Regions from separate parts of the Homo sapiens genome. Here region 1 is linked to region 2. The links are contacts of gene promoters, found by promoter capture Hi-C in blood cells and fetal thymus (Javierre and others, 2016). All regions are on one chromosome and are shown on one strand. The core of a region is centred on a gene start or on the middle of the fragment in contact, and the rest is flanking DNA. Distances in the headings are between cores, read along the strand shown. Region 1 holds the start of TRIM38 (tripartite motif containing 38). Region 2 holds the start of H2BC12 (H2B clustered histone 12).

Region 1 (3,091 bases), core at 592-3,091, 1.2 Mb before region 2:
TGTCTGGATCAGCAGTGTGAAAATGGACTAATACAGATACTTACAGTTATTTCTTGATTATGTACTAAACAAGGAGTGGATTATTCATATGTTTTCTGGGAAAGATGTGGGCAATTCCCAGAACCAAGCGTTCCTCCCCTTTTTAGACTATATAGGGTAGCTTCCTGACATCGCCATGGTATTTATAAACCACTATGGAGCTGGTGGGAATGCCTTCTAACTTGCTAACACATTATAATTCGTGTATAATGAGCAATGAGAATGACTAGAGGCCACTCTTGTTGCCATCTTGATTTTGGTGGGTTTTGGTCAGCTTCTTTACTGCAACCTGTTTTATCAGCAAGATCTTTATGACCTGTGTCTTGTGCCAACTGCCTATTTCATCCTGTGACTTACAATGCCTAACTTCCTGGGAATGCAGCCCAGTAGGTCTCAGCCTTATTTTACCTAGCCCCCATTCAAAATGGAGTCATTCTGGTTTGAACACCTCTGACAATAGGACAGATCTGGAATGAGCCATGCCTGGGTACAGAGTCACATCCACAACAATGAAAGTTGTAGATATCTGCAAGGACTCATCGTGGGACCAAGGATTCAGGGGCTCATTCTTTCTCCTCTCTCTGTGTGCTGGTTGCCTCAGGAGTAGAATGTCCCATGCTATGCATGGGGTCTGCAACCATCATGCCAGGGCATGATGAATCGTAGGTGGCAAAACAACAGAAGGCTCTGTGAGCACCCAGGAGGGTGCAGTGCTGAAGAGTCTTCTGCTTGGTATAGGAAGAAAGGAACGTGTTTCCCAATCTTGCCTTTATTTTGAGTAGTTGGACCAGAGGGATTGCAGCTGGGCCAAACTCCATGTTCCATTGGCTATCAGGGTCAGCAGGCAGGCCAGGGGCCCAGACAGGCCAGTGGCTCCCAGAATTCAAGTTTAATTTCTCCTCCCACCTGTGTCCTGAGCTCCCCTTACTGGTTCCCTTGGACCACTGCATCTACTTAAGCCAGCATTTATTATGTTGTTATCATAAATGCCTCTTACACCTGAGACTTATAAATGTGACAAGCTCTTATTGTGAGATAGTAATCCATCTTTTTTCCCCATGAAATAATAATTCTAACGGGTGGTGATAGTACTTTTCCTTTCATTTTGAAGTGGAGAAGCTGGAGCTAAGTCATTAAGGACTTGACCCTGGACCCCACAGCCTTTTCTCCACAAAGCACAAAGCAGAGTGATGGTCCCAGGGATCCCACACAGCTCTAAGCTGGGGGCACTCACTGCTGGGCCACTAGTGACTCCCATTTTCTATCCTGGCTGACCCTCGCTATTGAAGAAGATCTGAGTCCTGCAGAAGGACAGCAAGGAGAAAAACAAGACACAGAACGGGACAGAGAAGAATAGAAAGCTGACTCAGATGAATTTTGTGATGCCAATGAGTCCTACTGCTGTTACCACCCCTTTTTCCACCACACCCTTCAGAGCAGTTATAGAACCACAAGCAACCCATAAATAGCAAAAGAAGTAACATCAGCTAGGAAGGCTTAAGGACTCCCAAGGGAGTTGGTGGCAAAAGTAGAAAGATCTCAAATCAGAGTCTGTGAACTGAACCTCTGCAGGCTTCCTGTTTTTAGATACTCTGTGTTGGGGTCACATGATAGTTTACAGGGTTATTAATTGGTTCCTTCTTTTTATTGCTGTAAAAGAAGGATATTTTCTTCCTACGTTTCCCCCTCCTTTACCGGAGAGGCGGAGTGCAAATGATATGAACAACGTCACTAGTTTTCTCCTAAATCTTATGAGCCCCGCCTCCCACAGTAGTTTCACTTCTCAGTTTAATCCGGTCTGAGTTAACTTCCTGACCCAGGAAGTGGCAGCAACAGAGGGGACTAGCAGCGAATATGTAAGTGTCTGAGCAGTGAAGGTTACGGAAAAGGTCCAGGCTAAGGTTTTCTCAGTGGATATGTGAGTGTGTACTGATGGCAAGTGGGGTGGGGAATATATTTCGTGACAGCAGGGCCCCTCCAACTCTGAAAATGGTCAGGACTTTCTTTGTTTTACAGCTCTCACCTCTTTCCTGCTCTTTCTTTCACCAGACTTTACACCAAATCTCAGAAGATTCAGAACTTAGATGAGTGGGGCCCAGGACAGGAACCCTGGAGCCTTGGAAGGAGGGGAGCCCCATCTCCCCAGAAGAGCAGTGACCCCAGCAGAGAGGGGCCTGGTGTATCACTGGAGGAAATAGCCTGCCAAGGAATACACGTCTTCAGAAGAAATTCTGTGTGGCTTCAAGAGACTGATCAAATTGTGAGAGGAAAACAGCCTACCCGGTAATTGTAGTTAAATTACTGTTTTTTATTCTAGGCACTCTTCAAACTTCCTCCTGACTCTGCCCCTGTCCTAGAGGAGCTCCCAGGAGTAGGGGTGTGGGGGCGGGCGGGGGGGAGGGATCGGGGGTACAGGGAGAGCCCAGCTAGGTTCTCAGAAGAGGCAGGCTTTTTCGCTCCTGGTCACTCCTCTGTTGCCTATCCCTGGCCTCCCCCATCTTCTTTCTGCCTTCCCTACCTCCTTGGGTCTGCAAACTCTTTATGTTGCAATCACTCTGAACATGTCTCTTGAGATAGGTCCTGTCCTGGAGAAGAGATAGTAAAAGTAAACTCCCCAGTTCTGCAGGAGCTCTGATCCCATAGAAATAACTGCTCCTCAGGAGCAAACCCTCTGCTCTGCAGCCTTCTTTCCAATTCTTATTCCCTCAGTTTAGGGAGAGGGCACAAAAAGGATAAACCGGTTCTTCTGGTTGTTCTGGTTGCCTTGATTGCTTCCATTATCCTCCTGGTTGGGTCTCTAGCAAGACGTTATTAGCCAGGGAAGTCCCACTTAGGCACCCCTCTCTGCAGAAGAGGTATTCACTATTCTCCTTTCTCTTTCTTTTGCCTATTATACCTCTGCTCCTGAAAGCAAAAACAACAACAACAAAAACACAAACAAAAAACAACCGACCTTATTAACCAGTGTTGGTTGTTGTTCTTTGTGGGGGATGGGGGGGGTCGAGGTGGAGTCAAATTTTATTGTCATGATGGTGTAGGAGCCAAGGGAACA
Region 2 (2,826 bases), core at 149-2,648:
CTCATCACCGGCATAGTCATTCTAGCCTCTAATCACACAATAAAACCCACCACCTAATTCTAACCCACCACCTAACACTTAGCTCAAACCCTGTGCTGCTGGGGAAGTTCCCTTCTCCTCTACTCCAACTTCTTGCTTCGGGGCGGACTGTCTCTAGTCTGTCTGTTGTCTCCCCTCTGAATCTACTTGCTTTTCATTTTCCTTTTCTATAAGCTTTCTTGTCAAAAGGAAAAATTACTGATTGGACCAATTGACGCTGAACATGCCTTAAAAACTAGTAAACTATTCCAAAAATCTCCGTGATGATTTCATGTTCCGTTTCTTCACTCCTGAGAAAAGCTGTGCTCCTCCCCTTACCCTTGCAGACTATCCTGCCTGGTGGTCTGGCATCTTCCCGATGTCCCGTGGGCTGCAGAGATGGAATCAGGGGGTGAGGGGGAAGCAAAGCAAGGCAGAGCTGGGTACAGCCTAGAAGAGGTTAAATAAGGTAACTGCTCGAGCGAAAGCCATACGTACTGGAACGCCATCGGGAACCAAATTTACTAATATATAAACTCACGTTAGAACGCCATTACATGGTGGAAAGTACACGTGACACAATAGGCTTTCAACAAGTTCTAACAGGAAGTCACAGCACTCGACACAACGGAAGTATCCATTTTCGCGCCAAGAGCCAGGAAGCACTTTCTGTTAACACAAGTTTCCTGCACATCCCTAATTTTTTAGGCGCCATATTCCTCACTCAGTACTAACAAAGTGTATGTGGCTTCTCCTTAGCCAGACTCGATTACAAGCACTGCATGCATTACTCAGTGTGATAAGATCATGATAATCCCTTTAAAAAGATCGCCCGAATTTAAGCCTGGATTAGGAACACGTGTTTACAGCTCTAATATCGATAATTTAAGTGGCTCTTAAAAGAGCCTTTGGGGTTGGGCTTTAAGACGCTTACTTGGCAAGTTTACTTAGCGCTGGTGTACTTGGTGACGGCCTTGGTGCCCTCGGACACGGCGTGCTTGGCCAACTCCCCGGGCAGCAGCAGGCGCACGGCCGTCTGGATCTCCCTGGAGGTGATGGTCGAGCGCTTGTTGTAATGCGCCAGGCGGGAAGCCTCACCCGCGATGCGTTCGAAGATGTCGTTGACGAAGGAGTTCATGATTCCCATGGCCTTAGAGGAGATGCCGGTGTCGGGGTGGACCTGCTTCAGCACCTTGTACACGTATACGGAGTAGCTCTCCTTGCGGCTGCGCTTGCGCTTCTTGCCGTCCTTCTTCTGCGCCTTAGTCACGGCTTTCTTCGAGCCCTTCTTGGGCGCGGGAGCGGACTTCGCTGGTTCCGGCATGTTGAAGGCGAACTACGAGCCTGAGACGAGCAGCAGATCGAGAAAACGGGAAGTAATGGGAGCAAGGTACCAGGAGTCGTTTTTATATAGGACCTCTCATGCAAATAAGGTGAAGAGTGAAAGTCCTGTATCTGATTGGTGGTTATTAGGGTGACGTCAGAGGTTAGTTATACCCAATCAACCCAATCTGCAAATCCAAAAGACGTACTTCCATTGGTTAAAACTAAGCTACAACCCTAACCAATGACATATCTTCTTTTTCGCGCCCAATAGTGTTTATAAAAGGCGCTGCCTTTCCTCGTTGGCTACTTTCAGTAAGTTGTGACCAGTATGTCTGGACGTGGCAAGCAAGGCGGTAAAGCTCGCGCCAAGGCCAAGACCCGCTCTTCTCGGGCTGGGCTTCAGTTCCCCGTGGGCCGAGTGCACCGCCTGCTCCGCAAGGGTAATTATGCCGAGCGGGTTGGAGCCGGCGCGCCAGTGTACCTGGCTGCGGTGCTGGAGTACCTGACCGCTGAGATCCTGGAGCTGGCTGGCAATGCGGCCCGCGACAACAAGAAGACCCGTATCATCCCGCGTCACCTCCAACTGGCCATCCGCAACGACGAGGAGCTCAACAAGCTGCTGGGCAAAGTCACCATCGCGCAGGGTGGTGTCTTGCCCAATATCCAGGCCGTGCTGCTGCCTAAGAAGACTGAGAGCCACCATAAGGCCAAATAAGGAGCGAGGTTGTGAAAACTGGAAAACAAAGGCTCTTTTCAGAGCCATTCTACACTGTCTTAGAGAAAGCTGGACACAGTCATGTTTGTTTCACTTCATGTTTGCTTCGCTAGATAACATTGTAAAGCGCTTCTTTCGCGGTTGGGCTGGAGCAACTCTTTACAATGTTTCTAAATTAACCCACTGGAAAGCAATGAAGACCCAAAAGTTGTTGTAGGATACTCCGGAGAAGCTTATTCAGCAGGGGTAATAAGTGAAATCAAACGTACAAATCCCTGAAATCTATTTACTAATTCCAGTGGTTTTTTTTTTTTTTTTTTTTTTTTTGAGATGGAGTCTCCAACAGGCTGGAGTGCAGTGGCGCGGCGCGATCTCGGCTCACTGCAACCTCCACCTCCCAGGTTCAAGCGATTCTCCTGTCTCGGCCTCCCGAATAGCTGGGATTACAGGCACACACCACCACGACCGGCTAGTTTTTTTGTATTTTTAGTGGAGACGGGGTTCCACCATGGTGGCCAGGCTGGTCTCGAACTCCTGACCTCAGGTGATCCGCCCGCCTCGGCCTCCCAAAGTGCTGGGATTACAGGCGTGAGCCACAGCGCCCGGCCTCCAGTGTAATAATTCTATTACATTAATAGTGTTGTCAAACAGCCATAAAAATGGGATATACTTGCCATTCTTTAAAGGCAAATTTTGCAATTCTAAGTATTCTTGAAAAGCAAGAAAGGGCAGCCTGATTCTTAAGTGGTCTAACTCTTAAGAGTAAC

Evidence for each region. The method cuts DNA at HindIII sites, captures the fragments that hold promoters and counts their contacts. A CHiCAGO score of 5 or more calls a contact.
Region 1: the fragment with the promoter of TRIM38 here is called in contact with the fragment with the promoter of H2BC12 in region 2 in 13 of 17 cell types (activated CD4 T cells, total CD4 T cells, non-activated CD4 T cells and 10 more); the score reaches 23.3 in activated CD4 T cells.

The regions. Positions count from the first base shown.
Region 1 is chr6:25,960,961-25,964,051 of GRCh38, forward strand. It overlaps TRIM38 (tripartite motif containing 38), which reads left to right and starts at 1,842. Exons shown (of 8, transcript NM_006355.5): 1 at 1,842-1,895; 2 at 2,089-2,322. The HindIII fragment of the contact is 6,907 bases long and covers 1-3,091 here.
Region 2 is chr6:27,145,457-27,148,282 of GRCh38, forward strand. It overlaps H2BC12 (H2B clustered histone 12), which reads right to left and starts at 1,399. Exons shown (of 1, transcript NM_001312653.2): 1 at 905-1,399. The coding sequence starts at 1,342. The coding sequence ends at 962. H2AC12 (H2A clustered histone 12) reads left to right here and starts at 1,650. Exons shown (of 1, transcript NM_080596.3): 1 at 1,650-2,106. The coding sequence starts at 1,673. The coding sequence ends at 2,059. It overlaps MIR3143 (microRNA 3143), which reads left to right and starts at 2,170; the gene lies at 2,170-2,232. RefSeq lists enhancers at 297-406, 826-1,742, 997-1,456, 1,787-2,036. The HindIII fragment of the contact is 2,078 bases long and covers 212-2,289 here.